Linked DNA regions of Homo sapiens: all the other regions are linked to region 3. Evidence: promoter capture Hi-C in 16 types of primary human blood cells and fetal thymus (Javierre and others, 2016). All regions are on one chromosome and are shown on one strand. The core of a region is centred on a gene start or on the middle of the fragment in contact, and the rest is flanking DNA. Distances in the headings are between cores, read along the strand shown. Region 1 overlaps LOC105377847 (a long non-coding RNA gene). Region 2 holds the start of SDHAF4 (succinate dehydrogenase complex assembly factor 4). Region 3 holds the start of OGFRL1 (opioid growth factor receptor like 1).

Region 1 (4,487 bases), core at 1,320-3,819, 900 kb after region 3:
GCTCCCAAAGTGCTGAGATTACAGGCATGAGCCACTGTGCCCAGCCTGTCCTTGTGCCTTTGATTCATCATTTATCCTCTCCTTCTTCTTTATTTTTCCACTGATCCTTTGTCACAGGCCTTAGTCTTCTGCCAGCTGATAAATGGGAATATTCCACAGGTTCAGTTCTCGCCCTTTTTCTTCTTTCATTATGTACATCACAAAGGAGATCTTATCCACATTCATGGCTTCTGCACACACATTAAAGCCATGTACACCTGCCTTCAGCCCTAGGTGAGTTCTAGGTGCCCACAGGACCTCTCTACCTATCTTCTCAAAGATAAGTCAATCTTAACATGTTCAAAATGAATCCATTATAATTGATGTATTAGTCTGTTCTCACACCGCTAATAAAGACATACCCAAGACTGGATAATTTATAATGGAAAGAGGTTTAATTGACTCACAGTTCAGCATAGCTGGGAGGCCTCAGGAAACTTACGATCATGGCAGAAGGGGAAGCAAACATGTCCTTCTTCACATGGTGGCAGCAAGGAGAAGTGCAGAGCGTTGGTGGAGAGCCCCTTATGAAACCACTAGATCTCGTGAGAACTAATTCACTATCACGAGAGTAGGATAGGGGAAATCATCCTCATGATTCAATTATCTCCACCTGGTCCTTCCCACGACACATAGGAATTACAGGAACTACAGTTCAAGATGAGGTTTGGGTGGGGACTATATCAATTGAGAATTAAAAAAAATCATTTCTTCTGTATTACCCTTGTTCTGTATTCTCTCTATAGTGAATGGCATTATGATTGTCACATCCTGAAACCTAGGAATCAACTCGTGTCTTCCCTGTCTCTTACTCTCTCACCTTCAGAGAATCACCAAGCTCTGTTGAACTTAATAATAATTGACAATGCTGAATATGAAAGGCATTTTTTAAAGAAGACTAAATGTATTTTCTCAATTTTCACAGTCACTGTGTTATGTGGGTGGCTAATATCACCTCCATTTTAAAATTAAGAAAATTGAGGCACCAAGAGGCAAAATAACTTGCTTTGGTCACACAGGTAATAAACGGCAGGGATGGGATCCAAATCTAGGCAGTTTACAGCGCTGGCCTCTTAACAACCATACCATGGTCGGCTTACTAAATGCCAGGATCTTAAATACCTCTTCAGTTCATTTCCTCCTATTCTTTCTCATTTTGGTAGAGTTGGTTCATGTGCTTCTTTTCTGCTGTGTAACTTCTTACAACCTGCTGCTCTAAATCCATTTTTAAGTTATCTTACTAATTAGCCTTCATCAACATTTTCAGGAATTTGGCTAAGCTATGTCTTTGTAATCTATAGATTTGAGATTTTGTTTCAAGAAAATTATATTCAATTATATATTTGAATTTTTCCCATTCCATATATTATTTTCTTCCATGAAAGTGATTATTTGTTTAATGTCCATACCACCTCCTTTCTTATTTTATCTCTGTTCTTTTCCAATTCGTTTTATGTTATTTACTCAAGGGCTTTCTTTTTGTCCTAGACTGTATTTTTATCCATATATATGTGTTACCATTTGTTGACTCTAATGAGAATTTCACCTCTGTAATAATTTCATCTTATGCTTCTATTCATCTCTGAGCTCCACACACCCACTGTTTATCTCCTGTTCTTGCTTCATCTCTCTTTTGATCGATCTCTTGTTATTCTTTCAGGATAATTTTTTTTTTTTTAAGGAAAGCCAACTTGCCTTTAGTTTCTTTGAGTCTTGGGAGAACTGTTTGTTTGAAATTGGCCTATTTTTCTATGAATAGGTCCTGAAATTTTGTGTTCTTCATTTGCCTTTTGTTTCCTTTTTTCTCCTATGTATTTTTTCTTTACTGTCTAACCTCTACCAGGGAAATGGATGTTTCAGAAAGAATTAAAGGTAAAGACAAGTGATAGTTTCTGAAATTAAAAAATAAATGTATACAAGTTTTGAGAGAGAATTTTATAAATTCCTTAATCTTTCCTACTTAACATACCCAGGGCTGAGCCTGGATGACCTAGAACACAGAGTTCTACCGTAGTATAGAAAGGATGTCCCTTCAGTCAATGGTAGTGAACTCAGAAAGCTTGCTTTCCAACCGGGAAGGAAGACAGGATGTAGGGAAAGTTAAAGAAAAGCTTGTCTATTTTTCTAGGAATAAAAGGGGAAGGGGAGAGAAGAAAGAGAGAGAAGGAAGAGATTCAGGAAAGTTGTGTTTCAGTTTTACATGTGCTAACTAAGTGAGGGCCGAACAGGCCGAGGACTTTTATTTCTGTTTCCTATTTTGGATTTTGAGAGGAGCTTAACTCTCAGACATCCCTGAAGAAATCTGGAGCATGGCTACATTATCTTGGAGGCATAGCAGAATCAGGTATTTGGAGGTTCTTAAGTTTAATTTCCCTGCTGTCTTAGTTTGTGTGCCTCCAGAGACAGACCTGTGGCAATGAGTGGAAAGGGTTTTGTTTGGGATATGTTCCCAAGAAACACCAGTAGATAATGGGGAAGTTAAACAGATGGGAAGAAAACCAATAAAGGTGTGTTATCACATTATCACTGTGGGCAATTGGAGTTTGATCCTGCTGGGGAACTCTGGGGGACAGTTTACAACACTTACTTCCAGTTTATCCAAGTTATTGGTTGAGAACTGCTCCCGAGAAACGTTAATTCCTTGGTATTTTCAGCCCGTTGTGTGTTCAGACTGAGTAGTCACTGATGGCCAGAGAAAGCCTTCAGGCAAAAAATGGAGGCATTGGCAGGTGAAGGGCTGGTGTATACGGAAATGGCAATTGTTGAAGAAATATTGGCAGTGCCCTGAAAGTATATGATACTGCTGTCACGGTATACTGAATATATAGCATTTAAAATGAATGAAGTAGAGATACATTTACTGATGTGATAAATCTCAAAAGTACAATAATGAATGAAGAAAAGTTATTGAAGAATGCTACCACATGATTTCATTTATATAAAGCTTAAAAACAGGTAAACCAAACAATATGCATAATTATATGTATCATACCCGTGGTAAAGCTGCAAAGAAAAGCATGGAATGATATTCACAAAATTCAGCGTAGCGTAGCATTTGCCTCTTATGGGGGAGAAAGGGAAATGAAGGTTTTGGTTATGTTCTATTTCTTAAGCTGTATGGTAGGTAAATGGGTGTTTTATTATTATTCTTTAAACTATACATATAAATTATACTTTCTTGTTTGTATATTTCATTAAAGTAAATCTAATTAATCTAAAAGAGGCATATTAATGTTAGGTCCCTTTTCTTGCTTTAGAAAATAAATCACAGGAAATTGTAAGCATTTTAACAATTCAGTTGCATGGAAACAGCTGAATACCAAACTCGAACTCAGTCACCAATTCTGATACCAAGTTGTTTTTATTTTAAGTTTCTAATATTATGTAACTTAAATAATACAATACACCTAGACACACCAAAGCAGTCCTATCTAGGTGTCAAAATACTGCTAGTCAATTCTAATAATGGAATGATAAACCACAGTCATGGACTATATTTCCATCCTTTAATATTTTGGCTAGAGTTTTAATTTAGTCTCTAGGTGGAACATACATAGATCAAACTAGATCAAGGGATATTCTCAAAGTGGCAAAATGACAACCTTCGACTTTTTAAAACTCAGAAATCACTCTTCTCCCCGTGAGGACATATATTATTTCTCCATATGTGGTTGGAACCACAGAAACTATGGTTGAAAACATTGTTGGGACAAACAAGCATGACTATTTTTAAGACTCTGATGATTTCGGATATAATCAGCACTGAACTAGTAAGTCATATGTAATTAGGTTGATGATATATTTAATGTCTAATGGATCCTGGCAACCTCTGATCAAATGCCTTTCAGTTAAACATCACAACAGCTCCAGGGCATGAGTCCTCTTTGTCAGTACACAAATGGATATTTACATAGACCCACTGTGCAGCTGAATTCCATTATCTTAGTAGTCCACGTGGAGAGACAACCAAATATCTATAATAGGAATGTTGAGTAACTCCCTTCAGCTTTATCTACTAAATGTGTCTTTTAAAAATCTTTTTAAAACTTTGTTGTGAAATACAGTATATAAAATAGAAATGCACAAAACAACAAAAAAAATTGGCACATTATTCTAAAGGCAACACCCATTTAACCACCATCCAAGTCAATAAGTAAAACAAGGCTAGCACCCTTTTAAGCACTCATGTGCCTTTCCTCTGGGCAAACCCCTCGGTACCCTTCAGAGGAAACCACTACCCTGGTGTTTTTGTTTTCTAGGAAGACGAGGGGAAGGGGAGAGAAGAAAGAGAGAATTCCTGAATTCCTGGCTTTGCTTTATAGTTTTGCTGCCTAACTATGCATTCCCAAGCAATATAGTTTAGTTTTGCCTGTATTTAACTTTTATAAATGGAATCATAGTATTTATGTTACTGTGTCTTGCTTCTTTTGCCCAATATTATATTCCAT
Region 2 (4,328 bases), core at 1,049-3,548, 720 kb after region 3:
CTTTGGGAGGCCGAGACGGGCGGATCACGAGGTCAGGAGATCGAGACCATCCTGGCTAACACGGTGAAACCCCGTCTCTACTAAAAATACAAAAATTAGCCGGGCGTGGTGGCGCGCGCCTGTAGTCCCAGCTACACGGGAGGCTGAGGCAGGAGAATGGCGTGAACCCAGGAGGCGGAGCTTGCAGTGAGTCGAGATCGCGCCACTGCACTCCAGCCCGGGCGACAGAGCGAAACTCCGCCTCAAAAAAAAAAAAAAAAAAAAAGAAAAAAGAAAGAGGTATTTCACAAAAAGTGAATATTTGAAAAGATGTTTTACTTCTTTAATCAGAGAAAAGCAAAATCACAATGAGGTGTCATTTCATTTCCCTGTAGGCAGCCAAAAATTAAAACCTAAGGCAAAATTAAGTTTCGGCAAGTTTGTGGAACAACAGAACTCCAATACACTGCTGGTAGAAGTGAAAATTGCTATAGAATTAGAAAATGCCGTTACACCTTGGCATTATATTGTAACAATGAAAAGACCTATAACATACTCCAGGAATTCTACTCCTTCCACTAATGCACAAATAAGGTACACAAGAATGTGTAGCACCCAATCCTAGTGTTTCTGGAATTACCCAAATGTCCTTTGAGAAGGGCACTGGAAAATGCATCATATGTTCACACAGTTGAATGAATAACTACAACCTCATGCGTCAATGTGACTCAATCACAAAACACAGCGTTATCTGAAAAAAAATCAACAATATGAAAACATTTCTATAAAGATTAAAAACACCATTGCACAGTTGTATCAGGAAGCAGCAAATAGAGACCTCCTTGGCAATAGAGACTATTTCTTAAATTGGAGTATAAGTTCATAGATGCTGGTTGTGCTTCATAGCTTACATGACTGCTACATAGCTTACATGTGTGCTACGTGTGTGTGTGTGTATACATATATATATATGGAATAATTCATAATTGTTTAAAACTAGTTAAAGGGGGATGTTGAATGAACCCTACAAAATTTTAACGTTATTACCTTGAGGTTTGGATAATGTAGGACTTTCACTTTCTGTATTATTCATTTCTGGACTATTTAAAACTTATACAATTAAGTAAAATGTTTGTATTTGGGTAAAATGATTGCACAAAGGAAAACAAATTGCATAGAAATCTGGCACCATTTGAGGGCAATAATTACTGTTTTCAACTTACATAACTTCTCCAGGTGTCATATATTAAAATTATGTTTTGCGGACCGGGCGCGGTGGCTCACGCCTGTAATCCCAGCACTTTGGGAGGCCGAGGCGAGCGGATCACAAGGTCAGGAGATCGAGACCATCCTGGCTAACACGGTGAAACCCCGTCTCTACTAAAAATACAAAAAATTAGTCAGGCACGGTGGCGGGCGCCTGTAGTCCCAGCTACTCAGGAGGCTGAGGCAGGAGAATGGCGTGAACCTGGGAGGCAGAGCTTGCAGTGAGCCGAGATTGCGCCACTGCACTCCAGCCTGAGGGACAGAGCGAGACTCCATCTCAAAATAAATAAACAAATAAATAAATAAATAAATAAAATTATGTTTTGCATAGTCTGGGCTGCTAACTGTATTATCTTGAGAAAAATTTCCAACAACAATGGGTTTAAAAATGTTGGTTTTACTGAAAGCATGAATGCTTTTTCTGTACTGACAATTCCTGGCTTCATCTAATTTACGTTATACTTATTTGCCTTTGGCTCACTTCTGCACTTTTCCCATTTTTAAAAGATAAACTGTAAACTGCCACAAATCCTTTTCTGCTGGAGCCTGGACCAGGAGCGCGGATTCCTGTAAATAATGATGTAAATAAATAAGTAAATCAATGACTCCCATTCCCAAAGGGCCTTCTTTTCCATTTTTCTCTGGGGCATCGAAGTGCGGTGTGCCCTGCGAGCTCCCACAGGAACAACCCGGAACGTTTGTGGTCCTGTTGGGCCACCGCGTGCTCGGTAGGAAGCGGACGTCCCGGGGGCTGAAAGGGCCTTAGCGATTTTCTCGCTCTAGTCCCACCCGAGACCCGGGGCGCTGCAGGAACCTGCCCAGGCCACCGGGTGGGCGGCTGGGCGGGAGAAGCTGGGCAGCCCCTGGCAACACCGAACGGCCAGGACACACGCGGCTTCCTCCGCGGGAGGCGCTTCTCTCTGCGCCTGGGCCTTCACGACCCCTCCCGCGACCGTGGCCCCGAGGCCAGGTGCTTACTTGCCGCTCTCCACGCCGTGGCCGAGACCCAGCTAAGCAACCAGGGAAGCCTCGATGGGGTCATGGCGCCGACTCCCCGAGCCTCCGCGCAGGCGCAAAGCAGTAGTGGGAGGAGCAGGGGGCATGATCCGGAGCCTCCCTGCAGAGGGCGGGGCCTCCGTGGCCGGCTTTAGAAAAGGAGTTAGAGGCATCCCTGGGCTCTTTGGCCAAGAGAGACCCAGGCTACCTTGAGCCCGGTGTTAAAACGCCAAATCGTGGCTGCAGTTAGAAGAGGGAATAATTCCGTTCCGTTCATGCTTGTCAGTCTGAGCCGAAATGGCCCGTGGAAGATCCCTTTTATAGTTTACAAAGATTGAGCACCTTTTACTCTCTCACTCATGTAAAATGCTTCTTTTACCTAATTCTCCCTGTTTTGTGTTTTAAATCTTTGTTCAGTCAGCTCCTAGTTCGTCCATTCTGACCGACTAACCAGATGATATGAAAGGCGACATTTTTGAATGAGGTGCAAAGCAAGAAAAGGCTCTCCATCCAGGCCAGGATCCAGTGCAATGAGCTCTGCCCCTTAACCCTTACATCCCACCAGCTCTGATAGCGTTGAGTGGATGTGGCAGACCTGGATGCTTTGTGCAACTCGTGGAAATATTTACAGAATCATAGTGAAGGCCCCCAGAATTCTGGAATTTTGTCTTTTCTTTTAAAGAAAAGTTTCTGGCTAGCTATTGCGCCTTGGTAGTGTCTGACCATGTGACATCAAGTGGTTATACGATCGAAGCTTCTTATCATGAACTGAGAATTATCTGGTTCTCCTAGATAAGGAGATCCTTTTACGAAGAGAAAGTGGGCCGGGCAAGGTGGCTCACTCCTGTAATCCGAACACTTTGGGAGGCCGAGGCGGGTAGATTACCTGAGGTCAGGAGTTCGAGACCAGCCTGGCCAACACTCTACTAAAAATACAAAAATTAGCCGGGCGAGGTGGCACATTCCTGTAATCCCAGCTACTTGGGAGGCTGAGGTAGAAGAATCGCTTGAACTCGGGAGGCGGAGATTGCAGTGAGCAGAGATCACGCCACTGCACGCCAGCCTTGGAGACAGAGCAAAACTCCATCTCAAAAACAGAAAAAGAAAAAAGAGAGAAAGTGGGATACACAGAACTGGGCCAAAGTCAAAACGGAAACAGTTTTCATTTGTAGGGAGCTCACAGTCCTAATATCATGCTTTTGACCTTTAGCTTATATCTACAGTTTAATAATGAATTCCTTGTGACTAGCTGACTGAGGAAAAAATTCAAAGTCGGATGATGGCTTTGCTCAATAAACTGGCCCAGCTGGCAACTGACTGCTTTTCATATTTAGAGCCCCACTTAACAGAGGCCCTGAAGGAACAGAACAGGGAAAAAAAATTATTTCCAGCATGCATAATTTAGCTTATTTATGTATTTTATGTTTTTACAGGCACATGTCACCACACCTGGCTGATTTTTCTATTTTTAGTAGAGACAGGGTTTCGCCATGTTGACCAGGCTGGTTTCAAACTCCTGGCCTCAAGGGATCCACCCCTCTCAGCTTCCCAAAGTGCTGGGATTACAGGTGTGAGCCACTGTGCCTGGCCAGAATTTAGCTTATCTTGTATGCTTTGCCTAAAAAGAGACATGGCTTGAGATAAAAATCGACATTTCATAGGCAGTGACTGGTTTGTCAAGTGGCTGGGAACTGGGAATGTAAAAGTTTTGGACTGGGTCTTTGGAATAGGACCTCTCAAAGTGGTCCCAAAGCATGAAAACATTTGGGTCCTATTGAACGTTAAAAAAAAAAAAAAAAAAAAGAGCTTCCATTGCAGAAGGGCTCTTAATCAGAACAAGATTATTAGTTATCTATTGCTGCCTCACAAATTATCCCAAAATTTATTGGCTTAAAGCAATAAACAGTTATTCTCTCACAGTTTTTGTGGATCAGTAACCTAGAAGCCAGAGTGACTGTGGTTCTGGGTCCTAAATGAGGTTGCAGCCAAGCTGTTGGCTGAAGTCCCAGTCTCGTATAAATGCACAACTAAGGGAAGATCTGCTTCCAAGCTCATTCACATGATTATTGGCAAGATTTGGTTCCTTG
Region 3 (4,191 bases), core at 1-2,500:
GCGGTGTTAGCTGTAATATTTAGGTTATGATTCCCCCAAAACCCTGTGGTCACATTGGACTTTGGGCTCCATTTTCCCAATCTCCATCGCCCCTAGCTGATAAAGAGAAGGGCCTAATGTGGAGCGGCAAACCTGAACCACCTCCAGGATGCACACTTCTTCAGGGGGTCGGCTACATATTTCCTCCTTTTTAAAGTTCCTGATTATTTTCAGTCCATCAGAGGTTAAGGGGCTTATCTCTTGACTAACCTCTCCTCCAAGCTGTATTAGTCAAACAGTTCAAACACAGTTGGATCAACAAGTCTTCTGGTGAAATAAGATTCGTGAAGAATGCCCTGAATCCTAGGTTGAAAGGCCTGAGTTGGGCAGAACAGTGACGTATGAACTTCAGATGAGGGCCTACACTTCTGACGGCTTAGACCCCACTGTAGGGGAGAGCGCTGGCTGCTTGCACTTGTAGCCCCACCTTATTCTGAGTAATTTTTTTTTTTTTTTTTTTTTTTTTTTTTTTTACCAATAACACACACTAGAGGGGTTGTCAAAATCCTCTATTTTTAGACAGGTTCCTCCCACCCCACCTTCGCATAATCCAGCTGCTCTGCAGAGGCAAAGAAAACACCCATTCAAGTTGGGTTCTGCCTTGAGGGACTTCCTCGCCGTGCCCTCGGCCAGGCCCCAGGCCGGCAGTGGGAGGGTCCGGCGCTTTGGGCTCCTGCAGGCCCCCGGGCTCCACCGGGAGACAGGTCAGCCGCGGCGCGGAGGGGTCGGGTCGCAGCGGCGAGCAGCCACCTGGCGCCCCTGGCCTCCGAGCGCGAGGGCGGCTTGGCACTTGCCCCTCTGGGGTGTCGGGGCGCCCCAGCCCGACCCGAGGCCACCGCTGGGCCGCGTACCTGCTCGGCGCCCGCCGCCTCGGCGTCCTCGTCCGGCGCGGGGCTGGCGCCGGGCCGCCCGCCGGCTTGCTCCGGGGGCTGCGCGGGCTGCTCGGACTCCTGCCCCGGGCCCTCGCTGCCGCCGCCCGGCCCTGGTTCTTCGGGCTCGGGCTCCGAGTCGGTCTGCCAGGTGGAGTCGCAGTCCTCCACGGTGGTGGGCTCGCGGAAGCTGACCCCGCCGAGCAGGTTGCCCATTGAAGAGGCGGCGGCGGGCGCGGGGCTGCGGGGCTGCGGGGCGCAAGCTGCGGCAGGCGCTCTAGGGCCCGGGCATGGCCGCGGCGAGGGCGCTGGGCGGCAGCCTAGGCGCGCCCGCCCCGCACTGCCTCAGCGCGGCGAGCGGCGGACAGGCACCCTCGCGGGGAGGAGCCGGCGGCCCCGGGACCGCCGCCGCGCGCGCCTGAACCCGCCCATCCGGCTCCTTCTCCTCCCCACAGGCGGGAGCTGCCGCCGCCCAGAGCCCCCAGGGGAGCCAACTGCGGCCCCCAGCCGAGCGCCACCGGCCCCAGGCCGCGCCTCCCTTCCACGTTTCTCCCCGGAACACCTGCCTTCACGCGGCCCCCGGCGGCCCCCGGAGTGGATTGGGGTCGGCTACTACCCTCGCCGCCCGGAGCCGGGGGACGCCCTCCCGGGGCATCTCCCAGCTGAGCGGGATGAGGGATCCCGCCCAGCTCCTGGAGCTGAGGACTGGCGTGGACGTGGTGTCGAAGAGGTGTCACCGTCAGCAGGCGGGTCCTGTCCACACCCCCTCCCCCTCTCCCTGGTCCAGGAGGAAGACACTTTAGCTGCAGCAGAGGACAAAAGCTGATGGTGCCGGGCACCATATAAACAGGAAATCCCAGCTGCCACAACTGTACTTAGGGCAGCCACCTAGAGTCCTTGTGGTCTAGAAAAAGTCAGAGCTATCAGTCACCTCATCTAATGAGCAATCGCTCGTGAAACAAAAGGAACAGTAACAACTGGACCATCACATTGATTTGCGGGTAACCTTACACCCACTACAAATTGGTGCTCCGTGTAGGCAAAAATCTCAGAATCAGTAGAACAGATGGGCTGTTTCTAATGGAAGAAGCCTCGGCCCTGTGGTCTGTTCTGCAAATGAAAGGAGGAGGGAGAACTGTGTTAGGGAAGTTCTTTCTTTTTTCTGTTCTGTTCTGTTCTGTTCTGTTCTGTTCTGTTCTGTTCTGTTCTGTTCTGTTCTGTTGTTCTGTTCTTTCTTTTCTTTCTTTTTGAGACAGAGTCTCCCTCTGTTGCCCAGGCTGCAGTGCAGAGGCGCGATCTCGGCTCACTGCAACCTCCGCCTCCTGGTTTCAAGCAATTCTCCTGCCTCAGCCTCCCAATAGCTGGGATTACAGGCATAAGCCTATAGAAGTACGTAAAGATAAGGTAGTATTATCAAATATGTGACCCAGAGAAAAGTGACTGTTGTAAAATGTGTCTTCTGGCTTTCTAACTAGAAGGGAAGCCTCTTTGCAGGCAGCCCCCGTCTGAAAGTGTGTCTGTATTTACAGTGCTGTCAACTTGGTGGATGCTCAGTAAACATTTGTTAAATATGGACTAAGAAAGATGAGCTAGATATTTGAAGATTAAACTGTTGAACTTGGAATGAATAGTTTCTTTTCAAATGTTTCATGATGAAGTAGGAAGCCAAATCATGTTAGATGGACTGTTTCTAAGGGAAGAATCAGGTAAACCAGCTGCCTATTCCATGGATAAATCAGGATTACCTAAGCTCTTCATGCACTGCAACAAGACATCTAGGCTGTAGCTCTGTCACTAATCAGTTTCTGACTTTAAGTAGGTCACATGAACCTAAACTTCCTCATTTGTAAAATGAAACCAGATCTCTGGGAGCCCTTCCAGCTCTGACCTTCTGTGATCCTATGACTGGGAAAAGCTCTGAAACTAATAAGAAATAGACACGGGGTGCACAAAAAGACTTTTGGGGCCGGGTGCGGTGGCTCACGCCTGTAATCCCAGAACTTTGGGAGGCCGAGGCGGGCAGATCACCTGAGGTCAGATGTTCAAGACCAGCCTGGCCAACATGACGAAACCTCATCTCCACAAAAAAATATAAAAATTAGCCTGGCTTGGTGGCGGGCGCCTGTAATCCCAGCTACTTGGGAGGCTGAGGCACGAGAATCACTTGAACGCGGGAGGTGGAGGTTGCAGTGAGCTGAGATCAGGCCACTGCACTCCAGCCTGGGCGACAGAGTGAGACTCCATTGCCCCCACCCCCCGCCAAAAAAAATACTTTTTGATTATAATGGCTTAGCAGAAGAAGATGTGGGGCAGCCACATACCACAGGAATCCAACTGCTCAAAGCTGGGAATTCGATTTTCCGTTGGTAGAAGACCGGAACACATTGCAGAAGTAGATATTGTCCATCCAGCCTTAAGTGTTCCGAGATTGTTGATGTGGAAAGTCTAAGGATAGTTGTTGTGTCCCAGGCGCTCCATCTGTTGGTTTAGGTGTATGTAGATTAAAGTTGGCCACATGTTCTTTGCTCTCTTCCCATTGAGAAGTAGTCTTATTCCTTACTCTTGAAGGAGCTGGCCTCAGTGACTTGCTTAACTATAGAATATGAAAGAAGTGATAGTCCAGGATTTTCTAAGTTAAGCCATAAGGAACCTTGCATTTTCCACTGGGTCTCTTGGAATATTCTCTCTGTTAGCCCCATGCTGCCATGTAAAAAGTTCAGCTAGCTTGAGACTGCCATACTCCTAGAAAGGCCACTTGTGTGTGGCCTCTGGTCATCCTCTGGTCATGGTACCAGCTGAGGCCTACCTTCCAGTATCCCCTGCTGGATTCCACGTTTTTGTTTTTTTTTTTTTATTGAATCCTCCAGACCAACCCATCCACCATCTGAATACCTTTCAGTGACCTCCATCGACCCTACTTGGAATAAAGGGACTACCCAGCAAAGCCCTGCTCAGATTTCTGACCCACAGAAGAGTGAAATGCAATAAAATGGCTGTTGCTTTAGGTCACTAAATTTTGTAGTAGTTTGTTATACATCAGTAGATGATGGAATGGTGAGAAGTATCTGTGTTTGTGCATATAAACATTTAAGTAACTACTGCAATTAAATCCTTCCCTTTTACACCACCTTTTGAAAAATGTGTCAATTTTTATAGGACCATAGATGATATGCCAGATTTTGCAATATATTTTCTAAAGAACATAATTTTACATGAAGCGTAACACCAACCTTATATAATATTTAATCAATTTTAAGTTTAGAGCAATAAGCACGACCACATT

The links. The method cuts DNA at HindIII sites, captures the fragments that hold promoters and counts their contacts. A CHiCAGO score of 5 or more calls a contact.
Region 1: a fragment that was not itself captured here is called in contact with the fragment with the promoter of OGFRL1 in region 3 in 2 of 17 cell types (M2 macrophages and M0 macrophages); the score reaches 5.9 in M2 macrophages.
Region 2: the fragment with the promoter of SDHAF4 here is called in contact with the fragment with the promoter of OGFRL1 in region 3 in 4 of 17 cell types (naive CD8 T cells, total CD4 T cells, total CD8 T cells and 1 more); the score reaches 9.0 in naive CD8 T cells.

The regions. Positions count from the first base shown.
Region 1 is chr6:70,389,781-70,394,267 of GRCh38, reverse strand. The region is part of intron 2 of LOC105377847 (a long non-coding RNA gene); the gene reads left to right. It overlaps LINC01610 (long intergenic non-protein coding RNA 1610), which reads right to left and starts at 66. Exons shown (of 4, transcript NR_125857.1): 1 at 1-66. The HindIII fragment of the contact is 833 bases long and covers 2,153-2,985 here.
Region 2 is chr6:70,564,900-70,569,227 of GRCh38, reverse strand. SDHAF4 (succinate dehydrogenase complex assembly factor 4) reads right to left here and starts at 2,298. Exons shown (of 3, transcript NM_145267.3): 1 at 2,224-2,298. The coding sequence starts at 2,287. RefSeq lists a silencer at 1,951-2,010. The HindIII fragment of the contact is 5,796 bases long and covers 1-2,997 here.
Region 3 is chr6:71,285,870-71,290,060 of GRCh38, reverse strand. It overlaps OGFRL1 (opioid growth factor receptor like 1), which reads right to left and starts at 1,250. Exons shown (of 7, transcript NM_024576.5): 1 at 891-1,250. The coding sequence starts at 1,124. All of the region lies in intron 3 of LOC124901339 (a long non-coding RNA gene), which reads left to right. RefSeq lists a silencer at 538-1,597. The HindIII fragment of the contact is 6,418 bases long and covers 1-4,191 here.